Regions from separate parts of the Homo sapiens genome. Here all the other regions are linked to region 1. Evidence: promoter capture Hi-C in 16 types of primary human blood cells and fetal thymus (Javierre and others, 2016). All regions are on one chromosome and are shown on one strand. Each heading gives the region's core, a stretch centred on a gene start or on the middle of the fragment in contact. The rest is flanking DNA. Distances are from core to core; before and after follow the strand shown. Region 1 holds the start of FGGY (FGGY carbohydrate kinase domain containing). Region 2 overlaps JUN-DT (JUN divergent transcript). Region 3 overlaps JUN-DT (JUN divergent transcript). Region 4 overlaps FGGY (FGGY carbohydrate kinase domain containing). Region 5 overlaps FGGY (FGGY carbohydrate kinase domain containing). Region 6 overlaps FGGY (FGGY carbohydrate kinase domain containing). Region 7 overlaps FGGY (FGGY carbohydrate kinase domain containing).

What was found. Contacts are between HindIII fragments. The CHiCAGO score rates a contact against its expected background, and 5 or more counts as called.
Region 2: a contact is called between a fragment that was not itself captured here and the fragment with the promoter of FGGY in region 1, in 16 of 17 cell types (M2 macrophages, M0 macrophages, total B cells and 13 more). The highest score is 20.9, in M2 macrophages.
Region 3: a fragment that was not itself captured here is called in contact with the fragment with the promoter of FGGY in region 1 in 10 of 17 cell types (M0 macrophages, M2 macrophages, naive CD8 T cells and 7 more); the score reaches 17.7 in M0 macrophages.
Region 4: a contact is called between a fragment that was not itself captured here and the fragment with the promoter of FGGY in region 1, in 5 of 17 cell types (M2 macrophages, M1 macrophages, M0 macrophages and 2 more). The highest score is 18.1, in M2 macrophages.
Region 5: a fragment that was not itself captured here is called in contact with the fragment with the promoter of FGGY in region 1 in 6 of 17 cell types (M2 macrophages, M1 macrophages, M0 macrophages and 3 more); the score reaches 20.2 in M2 macrophages.
Region 6: a fragment that was not itself captured here is called in contact with the fragment with the promoter of FGGY in region 1 in 17 of 17 cell types (M2 macrophages, M0 macrophages, M1 macrophages and 14 more); the score reaches 83.1 in M2 macrophages.
Region 7: a contact is called between a fragment that was not itself captured here and the fragment with the promoter of FGGY in region 1, in 13 of 17 cell types (M2 macrophages, M0 macrophages, M1 macrophages and 10 more). The highest score is 32.5, in M2 macrophages.

What each region holds. Positions count from the first base shown.
Region 1 is chr1:59,295,365-59,298,785 of GRCh38, reverse strand. FGGY (FGGY carbohydrate kinase domain containing) reads right to left here and starts at 1,692. Exons shown (of 16, transcript NM_018291.5): 1 at 1,636-1,692. FGGY-DT (FGGY divergent transcript) reads left to right here and starts at 2,236. Exons shown (of 2, transcript XR_001738089.2): 1 at 2,236-2,417; 2 at 3,022-3,421. RefSeq lists an enhancer at 1-233 and silencers at 1,651-1,740, 1,751-2,290. The HindIII fragment of the contact is 6,368 bases long and covers 1-3,421 here.
Region 2 is chr1:58,830,663-58,834,083 of GRCh38, reverse strand. All of the region lies in intron 1 of JUN-DT (JUN divergent transcript), which reads right to left. Among named protein-coding and RNA genes, the nearest start is that of JUN-DT, 47 kb to the right of the region's middle. The HindIII fragment of the contact is 8,972 bases long and covers 1-3,421 here.
Region 3 is chr1:58,851,065-58,854,485 of GRCh38, reverse strand. All of the region lies in intron 1 of JUN-DT (JUN divergent transcript), which reads right to left. LOC107984961 (a long non-coding RNA gene) reads left to right here. Exons shown (of 2, transcript XR_001738081.2): 2 at 3,084-3,421. Among named protein-coding and RNA genes, the nearest start is that of LINC02777, 51 kb to the left of the region's middle. The HindIII fragment of the contact is 4,275 bases long and covers 1-3,421 here.
Region 4 is chr1:59,737,389-59,740,809 of GRCh38, reverse strand. The region is part of intron 14 of FGGY (FGGY carbohydrate kinase domain containing); the gene reads right to left. Among named protein-coding and RNA genes, the nearest start is that of MIR4711, 5.8 kb to the right of the region's middle. The HindIII fragment of the contact is 1,337 bases long and covers 1,038-2,374 here.
Region 5 is chr1:59,719,789-59,723,209 of GRCh38, reverse strand. All of the region lies in intron 14 of FGGY (FGGY carbohydrate kinase domain containing), which reads right to left. Among named protein-coding and RNA genes, the nearest start is that of MIR4711, 12 kb to the left of the region's middle. The HindIII fragment of the contact is 1,096 bases long and covers 1,131-2,226 here.
Region 6 is chr1:59,697,700-59,701,120 of GRCh38, reverse strand. All of the region lies in intron 14 of FGGY (FGGY carbohydrate kinase domain containing), which reads right to left. Among named protein-coding and RNA genes, the nearest start is that of MIR4711, 34 kb to the left of the region's middle. The HindIII fragment of the contact is 937 bases long and covers 1,087-2,023 here.
Region 7 is chr1:59,675,711-59,679,131 of GRCh38, reverse strand. The region is part of intron 14 of FGGY (FGGY carbohydrate kinase domain containing); the gene reads right to left. Among named protein-coding and RNA genes, the nearest start is that of MIR4711, 56 kb to the left of the region's middle. The HindIII fragment of the contact is 2,487 bases long and covers 416-2,902 here.

The DNA of each region.
Region 1 (3,421 bases), core at 443-2,942:
GTAGCACGTTCTGGTAAAATAATCATTTCAAATCCCCCTGGGGGTGGAGGTAGGGGGTTCCACTCTGGCTAGGAGATTAAGGGCAAGATTCATTACCTCAAATTATTTTAAAAACCAGCTGGTAATTGACTGTGATTTAAACTATTTAAATCAATAAGTGAAAGGTTAGGTAAAGGGAACTATTTAAACTAATAAGTGAAAGGTTAGGGAAAGGGAACCAAATTCCAGGAAAAGCCAAGGCCCACAACAAAAACTAACACAGCCTGGAAGGCCCAGCCTCCTCCCAGTAAACTTATTAATTTTATCCAGAAAGACATGGCTCTCCACCCTCTGGGGTTATGCCCTTCTCCCAGCACACATGTTTTGACTTCCAAATCCAGCCAGGCAGGCTCCCAACCTCCCTCCCCCTCAAAATTGATCTCCAGGCCCAGCTGACCCCCTCTGATCTGTTCCCCCAATCATCCTTAATAACAGTGCTCTGGGCCTCCCACTAGGAGGTCCTCCAAGAGCCAGGCCAGTGGCCATCAGGTCAAGAGCCAAGCATGAGGGCCCCATTAACAGGAGACTCCCAGAAGACCAAGCGGCAGTCATCTGGCTGGAAAATCCAGCAAGCAAGTTAAAAAGGAAAAAAATCAGGACATACACGTGGTGGATCATAGAAAAAAAAGAGGAAAAGCAAGCAAAAACTATACAAAGCAAAACTCTACCATTTAAATAACAGCCACAAAATAAAAGACTTTCCCTTCTTTCATTCTGATTTACAAGTCAAAAGAATAAGCACCTCACCCCTCCTGGTCTCATACTTTAAAATTTAACCTAAGGATTAACTGCTTTTCAGACTTTGGTCATGTCATGACTGACTCTTCGGGGAAGAAATTTGTGTTAAGACACAGAAGTGCTTTAGTGGAAAACAGCCCATGATGAGGGAAATTCACCATTTTGCACCTTGTCAATTTTTTTTTTTTTTTTCTGAGACGCTCTGTCCCCCAGGCTGGAGTGCAGTGGCACGATCTCAGCTCACTGCAAGCTCCGCCTCCTGGGTTCACGCTATTCTCCTGCCTCAGCCTCCCGAGAAGCTGGGACTGCAGGCGCCCGCCACCACGCCCGGCTAATTTTTTGTATTTTTAGTAGAGACGGGGGTTTCACCGTGTTAGCCTGGATGGTCTCGATCTCCTGACCTCGTGATCCACCCGCCTTGGCCTCCCAAAGTGCTGGGATTACAGGCGTGAGCCACCGCGCCCGGCCCCTTGTCAATCTTTAAATAAAAAGGAAACGGCTAAAAATGAAAAGATATCCCTAGGCCTTTCTACTCAGGATAACTGTAACCAAACAGCATTATCTCATCTAAACTCAGCTGTGCCTCAAACATTATCACAAGTGCTGGAAGCGTTTAAATCTACAAGCAACACTAGCCTAAAAATGCCTTCGGTAGCCAGACGTGAATTAAAGGCTCCTCAAATGCCAGGAAAATGTCCTACAAGGGTAAGGGGAGGAGAGAAAGAGTACTGAATACAGATAAGTGGGCACTGATCGGAGAGGAAGCAGCACGGGTTCCAGACACCTAATAGGCAGCCTTGGGGATGCAGTCAAGGCCGACCCTTCCCTTCCCTTCCCTTAAGTGGCCGGACGCCTCACCCAGAAGAGGACACAGGGGACTCAACAACGTCTCGGGAACAACGGCCCGGCGGGTGTGAGACTAAGCGGCCAGGAGGAGGAAGGGGAGGAGGAGGCAGGGGAGGAGGAGGCAACGACTGCGGGAAAGGGGAAGGAAGGGCCGGGCCGGGTTGGAGAAGCCTCTTTCTGGGCGTGCGCGCTAAGAGCCTGCGCACCAGCAAAAGCCCCCAGCGCCCACGTGGGACTGAGAGGAGGGTCACTTACAGTACTTGTCCAATCTGAAATTACATTTTAGCTAGACGGATTCTGCACGTAGCCGCGCCGAACCCCACGGCGCCTGAGCAGGGCGGTCCCGGGGCGGCTACAGCCCCGCCTTGCGCGCGATCCCGCCCCCGCCGGCGCGGCCCCTGTAAAGCGCGGCCCCTGTAAAGCGCGGCCCCTGTAAAGCGCGGCCCCTGTAAAGCGCGGCCCCTGTAAAGCGCGGCCCCTGTAAAGCGCGGCCCCTGTAAAGCGCGGCCCCTGTAAAGCGCGGCCTGATTGGCCCTTTGAACCGGGCGTGGGATTGGCCGTCGCCTGCCCACCCCGCGGCTGCAGCGTTCCCTGGGGCCTAGCCAACCGCGGGCAGGGCTGGGCAAGGCGGGAGGAGCGCGGACCCAAGATCGGCTACGCTGCGTCTGCTCAGGCTGCGAGTTCCCGGCTCTGGGGACTCACCTTGCGGAGCTTACCCAGGCGGACTCTCCGCAGCCCCTGATGGGTGTGTGTGTCAGACCGTTTACTAAACACCAGGACTGTTGTAGGCGACTGTAAGAAATAAGAATATTGCATGGTTACAATTCTTGAATGCTTACCTTGTGTCTTGTTCCTTACTCTACAGAAATTTTCTAATCCCGTGGCGAACCCCCGTACTTCAACGTATGACATTCTGTAAATCTACAAAACAGATGGGTCCCTGCCTTTGAGAAGTTTTTACAATTTAGTGGGTACTGGACACGGACCTAATTTAATTCTCACATGCCTTCCCTTTCTAATAAGCTGCATGTTATGTATCCCTATTCTACAGATGTGGGGAATCCGAAATTTTTAGCTTTTACTGGGACACACAGCTAGCAAGCAACTAAAGCGAGAATTCCAACCTGAGCTCCAATCCGAACTATTTTCATAAAAGGCAGGATCCCAGGCTGAGGGAGTTCGAGGTTTGGGAGACAGTTTAGCAGTCGCTGAGTCCAAACATGTTGTTTTCCTAGAAAAGAAAACTGAGATCCAGGAAAGGGAAGTGATTTTCCAAAGACACACCTGTGAAAGGTAATAATTTCACTGAACGGATCTTAAGTGGCAGGTGCACTAAGATTGTCTGCTATCTTCACAACAACCCCGAAGTAAATAAGTGCTCTTATCTTGGTCTTACAGGTGAGGAGAACAGCCCAGTGAGGCTGAGGCCACACAATTAACCCCAGTCTTTGCACTACAACTCTACCAGGGATCCTGGTTTGGCTCATTTTCTTTCTTCTGCACCATGATTGTTCACCTTTTCATTACCAGCAACATACCCAAAGACCTAGCTATAGACTCGTTGGAATCTGTTACTTAGCAGCTGTGTGAATCAAGTGTTCAATAGGAATAATAAGATGTATTCATCTTACCTTTTCAGAACATTATGAAGAACAAATGTGGTAAGACATATGAAAATGCTTTGTAAAGTGTTAGATGCTTAATACACAGAAGACATTGCTTCCAGATCTGTTTCAACGTACCCCAAGAATGGAATAAGTGGAATATGCTGGTTTCATGCACTGTGGCAAGGGGGTCT
Region 2 (3,421 bases), core at 541-3,040, 460 kb after region 1:
CATAAAGCATTTCATCACATGAGGAGATAAGACCTGGACGGCATCAGGGTTTGGTCCCCCATGTCTCAGCAGCATCACGCCTAAGAGATCCAGGCAGTTTGGCCTGGCTCAGCCTTCTGTAAGCCAGACAAGTGCCATCTCATGGGAAGAGTTTGTGGTCCCCATCCCCTCTGTCTCAGCACTGGCTGCCTTGCCCCTGATGCTGTCTGCCAAAAGGGGCATTTGAAGTCTGGAGAATAGGCACTCAGCAGCCCTTTTCCTCATGAAAGTGCACGTTGAACCTTCTAATTAGGCTTCTCAACACACCTGTGAAGCCACAATTCCCTCCCTACCCTTCCTGCCTCCACTTTTACAGTCAGGAGCTGGGGGTGGGGGGTGCTTTGTAGTGTACCTTTCTTTTTCTGCTCCACAAAGAGAAAAAGTCTAATTTTGAAGACTTTGTGGCTCCTTATCCCGTACTCAGACCCCTACTTACCTGTTTCATAGGGGATCAGGGAGGGGTAATTATTGCTCCTGGGAGCTTTGAAGGTTTGACGTGCTCTGTGGCAAGAGAGGTATCTAATGTGATGATTAGCATTAATAATAATTATTATTAGCAGCAGGACTTAGCTCTTTTGAAAGGGGGAAATATCCTTGCAACTGTTTCCCAACTGCTGAAGCTCCTTCCATTGCTAAATTTTGCTATTAAAGAGGATGACAACATCATGACAGGATATGGTGGGGTCAGGAGCTGGGCCACAGAACTCCTGTAATGGTCACAGGCCCATTCTGGCCAAAGATGGAGAGAGGGCACTGGTAAGCATACATTGTGGGCCTGGCATTTGAATATTCCTTGAGATGCCTAATCTGGACCCTGCCTCCCTTCTACCCCTAGTTCTCTATATGAGGACACACTGGCCCTCTTTTACTTCCCCCAGCATGCTCTTTCCAACCCCAGACTGTTGCGCATGCTAATCCCTCTACCTAAAAGGCCTTCCCCCAACCATAACACTTCACTGAGATGATATCAGTGCATTCTTGGGCCTCTGTTATGTGCTGCTGGATGCTCATACTTCTCTTTTGTAGCACAGATGCTTACTCAGTTTCTGCCTCCCCTGCTGCAGTAAGAAGTATCGGGTCTGGATCAGAGATCACCCATGAGCCAATTCATTTTACTGCATTCTCTGTACTAAGTCTGACAATGTAAGTAGGTGCTTATTCTAGATATTATGCCTAGCCAAACTTCAACTGAGCAAAACCTGGCAAGATTTCCCAAGTGTAAGCAGTGCAAGGTCCCCCATTACACACCCAGGCAGGCCTGCATCTCCAGAGCTGGAGCATCCTGGAAGAAACAGAAGCCTACAGAAGCATCCCCATCACATATATTTTATTGTTTAAATTCCATTGTTGGCTATGAATACAAATGGGCCTGGCCTTGTCTGTCCTTTCTCCACCCCTTGGCCACAGTAGGTGGACCTGAGACCCAAGGTGGGTCAATGGTAATACCCACTCTTAGCCAGGGAGATCTATTTAAGGCATGCACATGTCCCAAGCCAGGCCAATCAAAGGATTTCCATGGGACTTTTCTACCCCGAGCTGTAGGAAGAAAATTTCTTCTCTCTCTGATCGCAAGCTGTAAAAATGGAAGCCTAAACTTTACATATATTATTATACACTATTCTATGTATTCCATACATAAGTTATATTTTACAAATTAAAAAAGACACTACAAAAGCTGGAAGGCAAGCCTGGAGCTTTGGCAATCACATGCTCATCCCATGTAAGGAACTCATGAAGAGAAGAGAACAATTCCAATATGCAGGAAGGCAGAGGTAACAGGCAGGGATGGTGCCCCGTAAGTGCTGGAGACTCGGATCTGGCCAATTCCGATCCACCCCTACCCTTCTCACAATTTATCTGAGCAAATAATGTCTCCTTTTTGGCTTAAGCTAGGTTGACTTTATGTTTATACTTGAACTTACTACCAAGAAATAAAAATAATATCTCATATTTTATTTATGCCCTTTTTTCCACAAAGGATTGATTTAAAGTTAACATCCTTCATTTGTCTTATAATTTCTGATTTATGGTTTATTACTTCACTCAAGGTGATCACTCAATATAGTTTTCTGAGGTGAGCAAAGAAAGTGTAATTCGTTCATTTTACAGATAATCTAACTGAGGTTCAAAGAAGTAAAGGGACTTAGGTCACACAGCTAGCAAATGGAAGAGCCTGGACTAGAATCTAGGTTTTCCTATTTTTCTCTCTATAATGAGAACCTAGAATTTAGGTTCTCTTATTTTTCTGCTAATAGATCATGGCTATAAGCACTAAGAGAGAGGCTGTTGGGCTACTTGGGCTCATAAGATTCTCATACCTTTCTACTGTAGGTAACTATGCCCTTTTAAGAAGCACATCTTCATAGTACAGTAACACTTGCTATAAATATTCCTGAGAAGTAATAAAAAATAGAGGCTATCACAAAGTTTGGGCTTTGTTCAGGTCAAAATAATATGTATATTTAATGTAAAAGAGATGCTAAAATCTTGACTTGTTGTAGCAAGGAGAGGGTGTTCTGGAAGGAAATGTTGGGTGCATTTGGTGCAGAAAACTCCAATGGTGTTGAGAAGAGGTAGGAAGTGAGAAGGAGGGAGCTAGGAAAGTTTTGTCTTTCATCAGCAGAGCTGTAAAAAAAAAGATGGAAAGTTGGAAACCACCGTTATAATGCGAGACAGACCTGAATTCAAATCTAACTTTGACCAGCCACTAGTTAACATCTTGGGCAATCACTGCATCTCTTTATTTCTCTGCCTCTTCATTTGTATAATGAGGATAATAATATCTTCTTTCAAATTTGTGTATGTGATTGCGCATATAATAAAGATGCCCAACAGTACCTGGGACATACTAGTTGGTAGATAAAGTCTTCTTCCCCTTTGTTTCTCTTTCACTTATAGGAGCAATGCTCACATTTTGTCCCCTATAAAGAGAATCAGCAAGAAACACCCATGTGCCCCAGGGGAGGTTAGTACACAGTGCATTGGGATTTGGCAACTGGGCCCTTCACCATGAAGGCCCAAGAGCCTTCCCCGGCCTTAACACCCTTTCTCTTATTCCTTCTCTCATGCTGTTTTACACATTCCAGACTACTTGCCCTTCTTTGGCCAAATCTTTCTCTCCCAACTCCCGTCTCCTATTTCAAAGCACATTGTTTTCCTGGACAGTTTATTTGCTACTTCGGCTTGTCCTGAAAGAGATTCTACTGGCATCCTTTCTACAAAAAGTAAAATCTCTTCCAACAGATAAAAGGGAGGGAAGCAAAAAGTGGGGTGGATGAAGTTTTTCAGGATAGAAAGAAGAGTGGGGAAAATAGAATAGACTTACTGTTTCAAGGACTTTTCCCAAGAAAAATATTTAAAGACATAGGAAAAGACTAGATTC
Region 3 (3,421 bases), core at 573-3,072, 440 kb after region 1:
TTTTTAGTACAAACTACATGCCAGATGCCAAGCTAGATAGAGGTGGTGTATATATCTCTGAGTGAGACTAAAACGACCCCAGTTTTCCTAGAGCTTATATTTTTGTTGACCTGGAATCAAATATTTAATAGTTGTGTACCCTCAAGCATGTCATTCTACCTCATGGAACCTCAGTTTTCTCACCTATAAAATGAGAATACCCACCACCAGGGCTGACACCATAGGTCTTCCTGAAGGGCTTATGACTCTTCGAATATTTATTTAACATTCTTTAGAAGAGAATGTATTGGATGAGGGAAGAGCTAAGAGAGCATGCATGGCAGGTCCAGGAGCTGGAGTTATGCAGGGCACAACCTCACAAGCACGCCTGATGCCCCAGGATGGCAGCATCCCACCTAAGCGCTCCATGTGGCTCAGCAAAAACGAGTCCTGTGATCATCTCAATCCACCCTCCATGGAAGATAGTTTAGCCACTTGCAGGCTTATTCCTCCCCTCAGACAGTTTATCTAACCTTCTTCCAGCCACGTACATTGTTCTGTCTCAGAGCTCTTAAAATATGTCTCCTATTTCCAGTGATACTTAATCCCATTTGAACCCTGGTAGATTGAGTTCCTGTTCAACTGGCCAAACTATACCATAACCCAGCTCGGTTTACTTCCAGGATTTGAAGAGTTAAATGAAAAAGAATATGTAAAGCAGGACCTGGCAGGCAGGACCCACTCAACAGGAGATAGCCCTCATAATCTCCATGACTTTTACCACAAAGCTGTTGGAGAAGTAAATTAGGTGATACAGAGGGAGTGGTATCCAAACAATGCTCTATAGATCCCAGTATCATTATTGTCCATTTTATCAGTGGTAGGAGCAACAGAGGCCCAATCAGCAAACTAGATAGCTAAGGGTCTGAAACCTCAGAACAAACTAAGGAAAGCAGAGTAAGGATGACCAGAAACACCTCATAGTTTGCAACCCCGTGGACAAAGACATGCCTGCTCCTCTGCTCCTGCACAGATTCAAAAGGAAACCCTTTCCCCTCCCCCATTCTCTCCTACCTCCCCAATCCCCATCCCAGCTTCCGCCACCCAGCCTACATTATTTTCTGGGCCCCTTTAATTTGGAGGCTTTTAGGGCCACATCCTGCCATCAATTTGGGGGCTGACTTCAATGAACGTTCTGTGCAGGGCGGGAGAGGGGCAGGATACAGCTTTCTCCTGGCGGGCCCTGATACAATAGGGTTTTCTACTGAGATCAATGGATTAATTGCAAATGCTCCATTTGGGGCCATAAGGAGGTGCATTGTTTTCCCACAGTCGGCTGGCTGTCAGGGCTTAGGCTTGCCAAACTTCATTTTTGAAAAGTCAGGGAAAACAATTTTGTGAAAAAGGGGTAGGGGTGGAGGGGTACAGCACAGTAATTTTGATCATTTCACTAAAGGTCAATAACAATTATAGCGAAAATTCAGAAGGCACATTTGTTCTCTGACTGAGGCCCTGTCTGGAAAATTCCATCCCGAAACAATTTGCTGTCTCTCTTCCAGCCCTCCCCTCCTCTACAAGGCTCTCTCTCCACCAACGCCCCAGCCCACTCCTAACTACCCCATCCTCTGGCTCCTCCCACCACATCAGAAACTCTCTCCCCTGGAAACAGCCTTCTAGGTTGAGAAGGAGAAGCGACCAGGGAATTATCTTCCTTTCCCTCGGGAAGGTGAGATGGGTACAGTGGCATCATTCCTTTCTCCCTGGGGTTGTGGAAGTGTTTACCTGGTGGTGGAAATGGCACGGGCATAGGGGAATTAAAGTCCTACTTCTAATAGTTAATAGCTGATACTTGGGAAAATTCAACTCTCTGAACATCCACAGTGTCATCTGTAAAACGGGAATAGTAATCTGGACCTTGTGGGATTACTGTGCAGATGAAATGAGAAGATTGAGACACCATCCAAACTACAGTAGATGCAGCATAAATGCAGGGCTCAAAACCACCTAAAGCAAGAGGTTCTGATCATGGCATTTCTCTGTGTGGAAACCCCTCATGGCACACTACCTGCACACCATCAAGGCCACATCTGTTGGCCTGACATTCAAAGTCCTCCACTTTCTGCCCTCCTCCTCCCTTTCCAGCCTCATTTCCCACTCCTTCCTCCCTCCCTCCCTTTTCTGTGCATAACCTGTCCTTTCTCTATCCTAGCCACTGTTCTAACTCTGAATTCCGAAATGCACATGTTGATATCCTACCCATCCTAAGACTGTCAACTTCTCCAAAAAGTTAAATTCTTTCAGCTGCGATGAATTATCTCCTCTATACTTAGCACCTTGCTTCTTCCATGCCTTCAAAACTCCATATTCTACTTAGCTATAGTTCTCTCAATCCCTCACTGATTCATCAAACACTTAGAATTGTAATTCAGAGCCCAGCCCTGGGGTCATGAGTGTCTGAATTTGAAACTCAGCTCTACTTCTTGCTTGCTGTAGGATCTTGGCCTTTCTGTACCTCAGTTTCCCCATTTGTAAAATGGGAATAATAACTGTAACTACCTCAGAGGCAGTTAATATGAGAAAATACGTGTAAAATCCTTCAAAGAATGCTTGGTACATGGTAAGTGCTCAGTAAATATTGGATAGTATTATTGTTAAATACCTAGTCTGTTTCAGAGCCTAAGAATACAGTGATGGATAAGACAGGCTTTTCTTCAACAAATATTTCTTAAGTGGCTTCTATATGTCAGGGATTTCTGCTACTTCTAGGGGGAAGAAGAAAGGAGTGGAGATAGATAATAAACAGAAAAAAATAGATAAACGAGAAAAATATCATCTTGTGAAAAGTGCTACATTGCCATTTACAGTAGATTTAAGTGATGGAGCATAGGTGAAGGGCTTTTTTAGGCAGAAGGCTGAGAAAGCCTCCTCGAGGAGGTGGCATTTAAGCTGCATGAACTAACCCTTAGCTCCCACTTCCTGTAAAGGTGAGCAAGAGCTCCTACAAGGGAGTGGCATAGGTGCTGGCTAGGGATGTAGGGGTCGTGATTGAATACAATTAGGTAATGTCTTCACAGGATGGTAAACACCCTTGTATTCTCTTGAAGGAGCTGAAACGTATGAACACCACAGCTTCAGGGCCAGGCAAAGTTGGGTTTGTGTCCCAGCAGTACAACTCTCCAGACTTTGAGCCTCACTCTCCTCTTCTATACAATGGAGCCAATGACACCTCTTTCCTGTGTATTAGAAACACCACCTAAGAAGATGTAGATAAAGTGACTGCAAGGTAAGAATTCCATAAATATTAACTCCCCTCCCCACCATATCAGAGAACCCTAAAGTTGAGAACTGCATTTCTGTACATATCACTATATTAAAAACCTAAAGGGGAAAAAAATGGACTATTCTAGTGACTACTTGTTCATCTCCCACTCAAATGCCAAAA
Region 4 (3,421 bases), core at 457-2,956, 440 kb before region 1:
GAGCATGTTTAAATGTTGATGAGAAGGAGATAGTATTGAAGAAGCTAAACATAGAGTGAATGGATAATGAATTAAGTGGGCTGTTAGAGGCAGTAGGAGATGAAAGAGTCTCTGATAATAAGTGGGCCATCTCTTTCATCGTAACAAATGTGAAGGAGAAAAAGACTGTATCTGGATATAAGCAGTGGTGTGTTGATAAATAATACTGATAAATAATCAATAGAAAGCCCTAATTTTATCAATTGCCAATTTCTGTGTTGTAAATACTTCCATCTTGGCCAGTTTCAAGCTCTGAATGTGATGGAATGGATGTGAAGCTGGGAAGAGATGTGCACAATATGCTCTTGCGAGCAGGGCTGAGCTAGCCCCAGCTCACTACCGGATCTAAGAAAGCTGGGAGATTTAATGGCAGTTGTCTTTCTAATGGCTTTTCTCTTAGAGGTAGTTGGTGGCTAAGAATAAACAGGAGGTCATCTCTCTGAACATGAGAGGAAAGACAGGGATGGAAATTGGCAAAGTTTGATAATAGTCATTGTAGAAAATGGGAAATTGAGCTGAAGTGATATATTTATTCAGGTTCCTATTAGGAAAGAGATTGACACTCACATTGGGTAACTGAAGTAAGCTTCAAGAAGAGTTGTTTAAAAAGGTTTAGGTAAAGAAACAAGTACCTAATGATTACCAACAGTAAGGAGCCATTACAACCTCTTAGCCTGAAGGAGGACAGGGAGGGAGGAGAGGTTCCCATCATGCACAAAATTGTAGGGAAAGGGCCACACACAGGAACTGTGGTCCATTGTAGAAGGATGGTAGATGGATGTAGCTAACCTGCGTCAACCCAGCAAGGAGAGCGCTGGGGGAATAAACAACTTCATTATTCTCCAGGTTCCTGCTGGGGCTGCCCATTGGCCAAACCCAACCAGAAACCAGGGCTAAGAGACTGGTAACAATTAGTATAGAGTGGTAGAAGCCTGCCTTATGGTTGTATGGCTTTGATTTATAGTGTCCACAAAGCTGAATTCATCCTGGATTAAGCTTTGCTAAAGAACAATGGGGAAAAAATAAAACAGCCACGTGGAGATTGACCATGTAGAAAAAGAGAAGATGGGTAAGAGGAAAGTGAAAAAAAAATTCTGAAAACAGCCCTTCCACGTACATTTTAGAGAGAAAGAAACTAAAACTCAAAGCATAATGTGGCCTGCCCAAGAGAGCAAGTTTAGTTAGTGGTAGGGTTATCAGACAGGTCTGTTTAGCTGGAAAGCATTTTCCACCTTACCTTCCCACCTGCAAGCAATGAATGGTTTGGTTGAAACCATTCTCCCCATACCCCTGCACCCCTCACTACCCAGTTTCTGCGCTTGGGAGAGTAAAACTCAAAAGAACAAAACTTATTTGAATGAACGTTTTTACATATGGCCAGATAGGTGAGGTGAGGCTGTGTTTGGTAGCCTGGGCAGGAAATGTTTGCTAGTTTATTTGCAGAAGCCAAACTTATCTCTACCAAGCAATTAAAAAATAATCTGTCAGGTTAGAGGCAAGGACAGAACAAGATACAGCTTTTAGTTGAAGCTGAAACATTATTGGAATTTTCTACCCCCAATATATAAACTCATGCATACTGAAAAGCAAATATTCACAAGGACTGCCTTCATTACTGGTGCTCATGGCAAATGTACAAGCTAAGAGGTGGATGAGGCATGTGCAAGGGTGTCTTTTGTGAAATAAAGGTGAAGTTAAGTTTTCAGGAATGCTCTGTTCCCCACTCCATGTCTGTTCTGGTCTCCCTTCAAGGCAGTACCTGACCAGGTGACCTTCTTACTTAGGTCCAGTGGTTTGGGCAGGAAAGGCAGAGAGAATGTGCCTGGATTCCCCTGTATCTGGTACTGAAATCAGAGCTACGAAGCTGGGAATGGACAAAGAAGCACTGGCCACAGCTAGGATGGCATTCCTGTGGTGTGACCTTGGGGCCTAATCTCTCTCAACCCATTTATGGAATTTCCTCATTTATAAAATTTGGCCAATACCTAATGGGTAATTGTGAGGATTATATAAGGCCAAGAATACAAAGCTCTGGACAGATGTGAGTGCCCAGCAAAAGTGGATTCTTGCCACATTCCTGTTGCTCTCTGGTCCTAGTACTTTGATTTAACCATTTATTTCATTTCCCAGAATAACCAGTTTCTTCTGACATGGGATTCCATTCACAGAAGATAGCAGCGGTTTTCCTACAACTTCCCAATCATGATTATTCTAGTTTTGTTTTGTTTTATTTGGTCACTTTTGGGCCCTGGTGACTCCAGGTGGCCATTCTGGGGAAACCACAGCATTTTGGATCATGGTTTTTTTCCCCATCTTTGAGTAAACACCAAAAGCTTTCTTTACCTTTTATTCCAATTCTTGTTTGCCATCTGGTGCCTGGTTTGGCTGCATCTGTGTTTACTTAATGACTTTAGGCAAAGGCCGAGTTTACATACGGGAAGAATGAGAGGGCTTTGCTGATTCCTTCCATATGTTCATTTATTCATATATTATGATTTTTGTAATCTCACCAGCATAGATCTCTTCAGACAATCCTTACCCTGTTCCCTGGAGAGCTGCTTCTTTGTGTTTGCAGCTGGGAGTTTCTGTGAGAACGTTTTCTTCAATGCCTATTACCTTTAGCACAGCTCAGTGAGGCTTTTAGATGGGCACAAAATTAATATTCTTGAAGGTTCTTCTTTTTGAATAGGGGAGCTTATTTGACTTGGTTGATTCTGAGGACTCAGGAGACCTGGGCTCTAGACTCTTCTTTTACTTTGTAAATGGTATGAATTCAGACAAGTTTTATAACCACTCTGGTCCTCAGTTTGCTCTCGCCCCCATGATTCAATTACTTCCCACTGGGTCCCTCCCACGACATGGAGGAATTCAAGGTGAGATGTGGGTGGGAACACAGTCAAACCATATCATTCTGCCCCTGGCCCCTCCCAAATCACATGTCCTCACATTTCAAAACTAATCATGCCTTCCCAAAAGTCCCTCAAAGTCTTAACTCGTTTTGGCATTAACTCAAAAGTCCACAGTCCAGCGTCACCTCTGAGACAAAGGTAAGTCCCTTCTGCCTATGAGCCTGCAAAATCGAAAGCAAGTTAGTTACTTCCCAGATACAATGGGGGTACAGGCATTGGGTAAATACAGCCATTCCAAATGGGAGAAATTGGCCAAAACAAAGGGGCTACAGGCCCCATGCTAGTCCAAAATCCAGTGAGGCAGTCAAATCTTAAAACTACAAAATGATCTCCTTTGACTCCATGTCTCACATCCAGGTCACACTGATACAAGAGGTGGGCTCCCATGGTCTTGGGCAGCTCTGCCGCTTTGGATCTGCAGGGTACAACCTCCCTCCCAGATGCTTTCATGGGCTGGTGTTGAGTGTTTACAG
Region 5 (3,421 bases), core at 429-2,928, 420 kb before region 1:
CTTTCAGCTGGGAGGGCCAAGAAGCATTGACAATAGCCCAAGAGCAATGAGCACACTTAGTGCCCAAATCTTGGTGTCTAACCACCAGTCTCCAGTAACAAGAAGCAGACTCTGGCCAGGCACAGTGGCTCATGTCTGTAATCCCAGCACTTTGGGAGGCCGAGGTGGGTGGATCACGAGGTCAGGAGATTGAGACCATCCTGGCTAACATGGTGAAACCCCGTCTCTACTAAAAATACAAAAAAATTAGCCGGGCATGGTGGCGGGTGCCTGTAGTCCCAGCTACTCGGGAGGCTGAGGCAGGAGAATGGCATGAACCTGGGAGGTGGAGCTTGCAGTGAGCCAAGATCGTGCCACTGCACTCTAGCCTGGGTGAGAGCAAGACTCCGTCACACAGACAAAACAAAACAAAACAAAAAAAAGAATCAGACTCTTTGGAGAAATGGCTGATTCCAGAACTGGAGCAGGAAATATGCACAATTAGCCTAAAGTGCCTTGTAGTGCCAGAAAGTAAGAATATAATAATTTTTTAAAACCTCACAAGACACACAATTACGGGATTATGTCAAAGGGTCATAGGAGCCAACTGAGGAGTTGCCAATGGCTACAACTGGAACAACTGAGTAACAAAACAAAGTAGTACTGGATTATAACCAAAAATATAAATATGTATGAGTTATCAGATGAATGAGTGAATAAATAAATGAGAAGAGACAAATCTCCCAAACAGCATAATTCCAAATTTATGTAGATATTCCTCCCACGAGGAGGTAGATCGTAACTTACTTCTCACTCACTCCTTAAGTTTGAGATGTGTTTAGTGACTTCTTTCCAAAGAGTACAGTGTAAAAAGGAAGGAGAAAGAGTAATTTTATAGTGGAGAAGCCTGACAAACACTACCTTAGGTGACCAAGGCCAACATCAATAGCGATAAGTTACACTGATAGTAAGTATCCTTGATATGATATGATGAGAATGGTACTTTGTCAGTCTTCTGTTTTCTCCCAAAAGACCAAAACTCCAATCATGAAAAAAAAAAAAATTAGACAAATCTCAACTGAAGGACATACTACAAAGTATCTGACCAGTACTCCTCAAAAATGTCAAGGTCATCAAAAGCCAGAAAAGCTTAAGGAGACATGATGACTAAATGTAACGTGGTGTCCTGGAAGGGATGCTAGAATAGAAAAGGGATGTTAGGTAAAATCTAAGGAAATCTGCATAAAATATGTGCTTTAATTAACAAAGGTCTCGCTTTGCTTCTATTACTGTGCTCACAAAACAAGTAAACACTATTGGATATTGCTGTCCTCAGGGAATCTGCAGAAGTCTGTGAATGTTGATACAAGTTGGTTAATCTTGGGCCCAGCTAATGCTAACTTGTTCAGTTACCTGTCAGGTGTCTTTCACTCTGTTTAAAAATACATTGCATTCCAAACTGGTGAACAAATAAAATAAAATAATAATAATGTATCAATACTGGTTCATTAATTGTAACGAACGCACCATACTAATGTAAGATGTTAATAATAAAGGTAACTAAGTATGTGGTTTAGAAAAACTCTCTGTATCTGCTGGGTGTGGTGGCTTATGCCTGTAATCCCAGCACTTTGGGAAGCCAAGGCAGGTGGATCACTTGAGGTCAGGAGTTCGAGACCAGCCTGACCAACATGGTGAAACCCTGTCTCTACGAAAAATACAAAATTAGCCGGGTGTGGTGGTGCACGCCTGTACTCCCAGTTGCTTGGGAGGCGGAGGCAGGAGAATTGCTTGAACCTAGGAGGTGGAGGCTGCAGTGAGCCAAGACTGTGCCACTGCAATCCAGCCTAGGCAACAGAGCAAGACTCCGTCTCAAAAAAAAAAAAAAAAAAACAAAGGAAAGAAAAGAAAAACTCTCTGTATCATCTTCACAATTTTTCTGTAAATATAAAACTCTTCTAAAAATAAAGTTTATTAAAATAAAATATATGGTCATGTTTATCAAAATAACACATAAGTTCATGCACATATATCACACAGATGGTGGTAAGTACTAGGGAGAAAAAAACATCAAGTAGGGCAAGGGGGACAGAGAATGGTAGGCGTGGAGCAGGCAGTTTGTATAGGGTGACTAGGAATGGCATCTCTCTGATAAAATGACATTTGAGCAGAGATCCAAGGGAATGAGGGAGTGAACAATGAAAAAATCAACGGAAAGATGATTCCACACGGAGGGAACTGTAAGCTTGAAAGCCCTGAGTTGGAAGTGTGCTCAGTGAATGGAAAGAGAGCAACGAAGCCAGACCTGCTGGGGCAGTTTGGGCAAGTGGCAGAAGGAGATGAAATTAGAAAGGGAGTGAGCACCAGGCCAGGAGGGCTTTGCAGGTCCTGAAAAGAACTAAATAAATGAATGAATAAATAATATGAGTGGAAACTTCCTCCTAAAGTTTATTCTAGGTATTCCAGCCTTTTTTTAAAAGTCATCCTTCATAATATACCTCCCTCCCCCAGGCAGGCACAAGTATTCATCATAACAATAAGAAAATCAATCTTAGCTGCAATTGTTACAACAAGACCCTCTAGTCTCCTGGAAGATGCCTAAGGCATGTCATCTCCTTTCCGAAACAAAATTTGAGTCTGTTTCTAGACAGGCAAAGTGAAATGAAGGCTTGAGGCCAATTTTTCACATAATTTAATATATACATATATAAAACTCACATATGCCTGAAATCTTTAGATAATGGAAAGAAAAGTGGATTTTCCTCTCTTCATTATTAAAGTAATTGGCTCAACCTCTCATTTCATTTTGCACATGTAGGCACAACCGAGTCTGTAATTAGTTTCAAACCACCAAAGTAGAAACAGAATAAAACCTCAGCTAACTGAAGGACCTTTTTTTCCCCCTGACATACTTGGCTTTCAATGGCTACAGGCATAAGGCATGAATCCGAAAGCAAGATCATGACTGGGACTTGCTTAAAAAACAAAATAACTTGCAAAGCATGCATTGGGTGAGTTCACTATGAGCCCCTTACCTGTTGCCTTTTCTATCTCTATTTTCAGTCCCACATAATGAGAGAAGGTATCCTGAATGATGATGAAATCCCCAGTAATCAGAGGAGAGACCCCAGGCTCATTGCTGGCATGCTAACAAAGGCACGAGAACACTCACCTCTTACAGAGATTTTTACCAATGAGGAGGAAATCACACCACTTTGCTCTGACCTTGACTTTAACAAGAAAGTTATATAAAGGCATTCTACTACATGGGAGTAAATTGTCGATCTCTCAATAGTGGGGACTTGAACTTAAAATATTTTGGTTTATTTAAGGGTGATGCATGCCACACTCAATCACAGGTCATGTCTTTTTGGGGATAACCTCTCTGAACCTCAGTTTTTTCATCTCTAAAATGACAATTATAATTTCTGCCAACTTGCAA
Region 6 (3,421 bases), core at 306-2,805, 400 kb before region 1:
CACTCCCAGTGGATGACATCTCAGGATTTTGCAATTCCAAACCATTTCTTTGAATTCAGTGAAACTAGAGTCTGAGACAGAAAACACAAGTGTTGGCAGCAGAGAAAGGAAAGAGAGAGGAGCCCCACAGTATTCTCCTTACTCAACACATTCCAGCCTCCCTGCTTTTTTTGCTTTCCTTCACACATGTTCAATTCATTCCCACTCCAGGGCCTTTGCACTTGCTGTCCTTTCTGTCATTTGGGACTCACCACGAACATCCCTTCCTCAGGAGGGCCTCTCTCCTGCTCACAAAGCCAGCCCTTCACACCCAGTCTGTCATTCCATTTTTGCTCCCTGATATCACTTTGCTTTCTTTTGTAACATTTCTTGTTACCTGAAATCAATATTACTTGTTGTGATTGCTGTTTCTTAGGATCTTCCCAACTGAATGTAAGTTCTATGAGGGCAGGTGTTGCTAGACAAAGCTAGAGGCACTCAGTGAGGAAAGCAGACAGGTATCAGACAGTAAAGGAGACGTGCACACTCCAAAGGGAGGGCAGGCTAATGGGGCTAAGAAAAGTGACACTGACTCCCAAGCAGTTCAAGGAAAAACTAATAACATAAACTCTTATTGCACACGACCTGTGATAAGCTCATGCACTACTTTGTTGAAGTTTCCTTGTTGGAACACAGAAGCATTCTGTGAATGTGGGTAAAAATTGGGATAATAACAGTTCCTGTCCCATGGTGACTGAGTTAATTCATGCAAAGTGGTTAGAACAGTGCTTGGCATATAAAAAACATCAATAAACTTTGCCTATCATCATTGTCACCATCATTATTTACAGAGAGATATGACAGATAGATAATACTCATCTATAAGAATTATATGCATTGCTGTGCACTGTATTTGCTTTTTCTTTTTGAAATGATTCTTAGAATTCCTACAGTGTACAAAGTTAAACATGTGCCACCTATTTTGAACTTAATGTAGTACAAAAACAGTTTTATAAGACTTGTTTGTCAGTTTTTATATAATCGAAGAATTTTAATGTGTTTGTAACAGACACATTTATGATTGCTTTGATCAAGAATTTAAAAGCTTCAAGCCATATAAACATGGAGAAAATGTAAGGGCTCTGAGAAGCTAGAAGAAATAATGATATCAGTGGAGAGAACAAATAGGCTAAAAGTCTCAATGACAACTTTATAAGGGTGAATATGGATATAGAATATTGAACAAGGCAAATAGAAGAATTAGAGATGTGAGAAGCGAGACATTCGCACAGAACAAGTCAAAGCACCACATACAGTCATCACTTCTCTGCAATCAACGCGGGACATGCCTGTTACAAAGGCAAGAACAGCAGGCAAACTGTTGCAAATAAGAACGAGAATTAAACATGTTAATAAATATGATGTTGTTTTATCAATAACTTTAAAAATCTGCTAGAATACTGTATGTTACTCCAAGTTCAGCTAGTTCTTTATTTTTATAAAAACCTCTTTTTATTTACCTCCTTTTTTTGTTTGCATATTGGAAGCCTGGTAAATAGAACTGGAAACCTACCTCGCCCAGGGTACCATTTGCCTTCTTTCTCCATCAGCCCCAATGACCCACAAATACTTTTTCTATCCATGGCAAAAGAGCAGAGGGGTTGTTTTTGAGATTTTAGCAGCCCATGCAATGTTCTCTACAGCCCCTAGGTGTCACTATTGCAAAACTAACAGAAGCCTGAACCGTCAAAAAGAAAAAGTACATTTAATATGAAACACTTTCAATAACTATGCAAAAGGCAGACATCATTTAATACAGAAGCTACAAACAATTTAGTATCTCTAATTGAATTTTTAATTTCCTTTTAAACTCAAAGGCTCACCCCAAGAAGAAGAAAAATATCATTTTTTAGCCAGAAAAAAAATCTCAGAACTGTTCTTTCTCCTAACATTTACACTGAGGGACTCAGCTGAAGCTCACGATACTAAAAGTTTGTGGTATAATTTGTTTTATAATCAAGATTGGTTTGATAGTACAAAAGCTTTCAGAGTAAAAATGTAAGACAGTAAATGAGAGCTGGCTGGAAGGAAAAATGTAGCTATGTTAGTTTGATATTCAACCAAAAGCTATAATCTTATTAAACATATTTAAACATGGTTTTCATTTAGATTTGGCAGCTTGATTAATGGGGATGTATTAAATAATACCTGGCTGCTAGGAGCATATTTAGGAATCAGTGCCACATAAAACATACGACATGTACAATTCAGTTTCATTATTATTTAAGGTTCTCTGTTCTCTTGGCTGTGGGCACACACATATTAAAAATTAAGTACACGCACTCAATGTATGCGCTGCGCTTTTAAAGGGCTTTCTCTTTAAGCAGAAAGATGAAATGGAAAACGAACTCAACTCTGGTGAAAGGTAATGGATTCATCCCTTTGGGGACAGCTGTCCTGTTTATCAAAAGAAAGGGGAGAGGTGGGTCAGAAGCAAGAAAAAAAAATTCCCAAGTGGTCAGCAAAGAGAGACGCCCAACTTCAGAGGGGAGCTGAAATCAGTTTCTACACCCAGGCTTCCTTCTTTGTCACAGTTGAGAGGTCGAATGAATGGTATGTTTAACCATGAGGCCATGGGGGAATTGAGATGCTGATTCCCAGAGCATTATAGAAACACTTTGGTAATGGGGGTGTGGGGGTTGGAGGGGAGTGTGAAGAAGCATCTGTAGTTTTTCTGGGCATAATGCTAGGTACTGACCAAGGGGTGGGAACTGCGGGGTGGGCATGGTTCTGACTAGCTGGGAAGATAGAAAAGTATGAAGTAAAGGACCAAGTATCATAATAGAGTTCTACTCAGTGTTTTTGATGAGAAAAAAATGATACATATGACATGCAGAACCTTATCAATAAATTATCTTTCTCCCCTTTCAAATGACATGAGGTTCCCTAATAATCTTTGGGCTGGAACAAGACATCTCAGAGAGGCCAAAATGTCATATATCACATTACATTTCTAAACAACCCAATGGGACAGGGAAAAGTACTATTAATATTTTAACTTTGGAAACTATGTTTAAATCCAGAAAAAATACAGAAAGCATCTCATCAATCAGAAGGAAAAAAAAGACATGCTTTTTTGATAAAAGTATTATTATCTCTATGTACAGATTACAGAACTGAGGCTCAGAGAGTTCAATCACGTTACCCAAGATCACATATTTAGTAAGTTTCAGAGGTAGGACTGGAACCCAAGCTTGTCTTATTTGAAAACCCACTTTTAAAATCTTCAACTCTCATTGCTTCTCTGATTGACTGAAGCCTTGGGCAGAAGAAACAAAGAAAATAGGGGGTGATGTGGAGGGGCACAGCATGCAATTCTGTTTACCTCTTGTGTCACCTACTTGCAAAAGACTGGAAGAAGAGAGTCTGATTTCTTCTCAAA
Region 7 (3,421 bases), core at 410-2,909, 380 kb before region 1:
CTCAAGGGTAGACCACTGCGGTCAGCATGGATGGTTTATCTTGTGGGCACACATTACAGAAAGGGTGAGTAATCACAGCTCTCAACTGGCCACTTACATGTATTGGTCTTGAAGACACAGGAGTCTGTCTGGAACGTGACAGGGAAAGTTGATGGTGAGAGTGCATGGAGTCAGTGGTTTACAGGGGTGGCAACACTCACACAGTGGGAGGAAGGAAGGTCTGTGATTAATTGGCTGATTCCAAGGGCTTATTTTCTTTACACTGGTACTCCCCTTAAAATGACTGCTGAATGCATTTTGATCTCTTGTCACTGTCTCCTTTTACTGATTTTTGCTTCAGATGCTTCCTCCACTCCTTTTTTTCAAGGGTGGGGGGTGGTGGTTCAAGACAAATAGCACTGCTGGAATTAAAGCTTGTTTTGTCTAAATAGACTTGAATAAAAACTGCCCCTGAAGATAAGAAATTACAGAAAGCTAATGACATCTGCAGGGGGCCTGAAGGAAACAGAAAGTGGAGAGCCATTTCATGTTGCTGTCTCTTTGCCATTTGATTGAGTTTTCTCTCACAACGACTTGAAACTGCTTCTTGTTTTATTTATTTGTCCTTGTATTTCTTAGAATCTTTTAACTGTCTGTGCTTAGAAAGTGTAAGCATAGTGATATTTCATAAACTTAGTTTTTTTCCAGTTTATTGATTTTCCAGGACCTGGGAGCCTAGAGAAGTGTTATGGAACACTCTCAGCTTCTAATTATAATTATTTGTTTTCCAAGATATTCAGAATTACAGAGGATCATTTTGTACTCTACTGATGATGGGGGAGGGATCAAGTAGAAAGGTCACAGAGGTCAAGACTGCAGGGATTCCACATTCCTAAGAGTAAAGGGAGGGGAAGTGAACTGCCTTCTTTGTGTCCCCTCCCACTTATTCAATAGCTAAATTTTTACTGTGAGAGCAGCATATCTGTGGCTTGATTCCATATTTTTCATTAAACCGCAGATATAAAGCTGATCATGATTTGCCTTCAAGAATACTTGTCCACAAGGAGACTGTTCTCTTTAGTAAAGACACAGTTTTGAAAACTACTAAAAGGAAAACACCCTTTCTAAAGAGGGGCAACTCTTTAAGATAGTATTAGTCATTGTATTCTTTAGAATGAACGAATGGCTATGTCAGTATCCTTTGTGAGATCCGAATTTGACAAAGAAATAGTAAGAAGACTTTAGATGTCTAAAGGGAGAGAGAGAGCAGGAAAGGACAAGGGAAGAGAGACAGAGACAAACTAAGAGAAGGAGAATCTGAATGGATAAAAGAACAAAAGAAGGAAGCTAGGAATTGTCAGCATGTTTCAAAATTTGCAATATCAATAGATCTTGTTGTTGGCCAATCTTTCATTAAGGGCCCACCAGAATATTCCATCCAGTCTCCCTTCCCCTGATAAAATTCTCCCAGAATTGAGATACACAGAGTCTACAAAAGCTACAAGTAAAATCTACAGCTGTGGATCCATTGGTATCACCCAAGAAAGGTATAGGACTCTACCCCCGGCTGAAAATCATCCATTCAGGGGCCTATGAAAACCCTGTCTCCTCAAGCACATAAAAGTTTTTCCTACCTCTACTGTCTGGGTCCTCTGGATTCTTCCCAGCCTTCCCAGCATCTGAAGGAGGTGACTCTGGTTGAGTCTACCAAAATTGGCCTATCTAGATAAGAAGTGAAATCCTCCATCTAACCACCAGATGTGTGGTCCATGAGAAGATAAAACATCTGACTTGCTGGAATAGTTGAGGTGCTGGCAGGAATTGCTCAACTTTCTTAAGGAGGGGAAGGCAGGTACCCTGCAAACCAAGCCAGGGTCCCTGAAGTTCAAAGAAAAGACTGTGTTGAAGTTCAGGTTGAAAATATGAATCACAGAAAGAAAGCAATTCAATTTTGCCTCACCTTGCCAGAATCTGAAGCTGGTCCTCAGACCTGGGGCACAAAGGTTGGCCCCTCTTCTTTGGAGGGGAGCAAATGACGCCAAGTCTACATGCATTTTCATTTCCAAAGCAGTTCCAAATATTTTATCATTCTAATGATATTGATTACACCTGAGAGGTCACTGGAACTTTCAAAGGCTCTTTATCTCGATAGTCCCATATGGGTGGCAATTCTTATTTAAACATTAAAAAAAATACATAAAACAGACAAATAAAACAAGCACCCAGAGAGAACAAGTGACATCGTCTGAGGACAGTAAAGCAAGCACAGAGCTCCAGACTATGGGGAGTCTGTCAGGTAAGTGATGACAGATAAGACCTCAGGACTCTCTCAGCTGGTGGCTCCCTTTACTAGATTGTGTCTCCTGAAAACGATCAGGACAGGCACACACATCCTTGGGTTGAATAGGAGACATGAGCTTGTCTTTACAATGCTGTGAGCCTTGCAGCTGCTACTCAAGTCATCAGTTCCAAATCTGATCTACTATATCTTAGATTCTGTTACAGAAGACTAACAGCAAATCTCATGTAGTCAAGATGTCAGTGTGGAATTAAGCTCAGTTTCCCATTAGGGGAAGATGTGAGTGGAATTCCTTTGGAGCTGGAGATCCCAGTTTTGAATAAGATATCAATGAAGCCATGAGTCATGGTATGATGTATCTAGTATAGCAGCCTCATCTTGAAAGGCTATTCTCTGTTTGAGCTACAGACTATCTCCTGATTTGTGACCTATGGCATTTCTTTTCAGAAAATACACCACTGAACACTTAAGAAGCCAGAAAATATTTTTAAAGAAAAAACAAATCGAACAAATTAGAAAAAGAATGACAGGATAAGATATAGACCCAGAGAGACCTTCATTTCAATTCTGCTTCTGCCCTTTCTGTGTAGCCTTGGACAAATTACTTAAAACATCTCTGAAGCTTGGCTTCCTATCACAGAAGGATAAAAACACGCATCCTGCAAGCAGGATGACTGTCAAGATTAAATGAGGTGTCTTATCTCAGGCTACTATAACAAAATGCCATAGACTGGGTAAACAACAGAAATCTATGTTCTCACAGTTCTGGAGGCTCAAAGTCTGAGATCAGGGTGCCAGCAATGTCAGGGTCTCGTGGGAGCCCTCTTTTGGCCTATAGAAATGGACTTCTTGCTGTGTCCTCACATGGCAGAGAGAACAAGCCAGCTCTCTGGTGTCTTTGTATAAGGGCCCATCAGACCATCATAACCCATCAGACTAGGCTCCTGCCCTCATGATTTCATCTAACCCTAATTAGCTCCCAAAGACCCACCTCCATATACCATCACATTGAGGGTCAGGGCAAATTTTGCAGGAATACAAATATTCAGTTCACAACACAGGGTAACCTCTGCAGAACCTTAGTAAGCATCCCCCCTGTTTTAACTATTATAATTTGCCGCAGGAAGGGCAAGATATTTAATT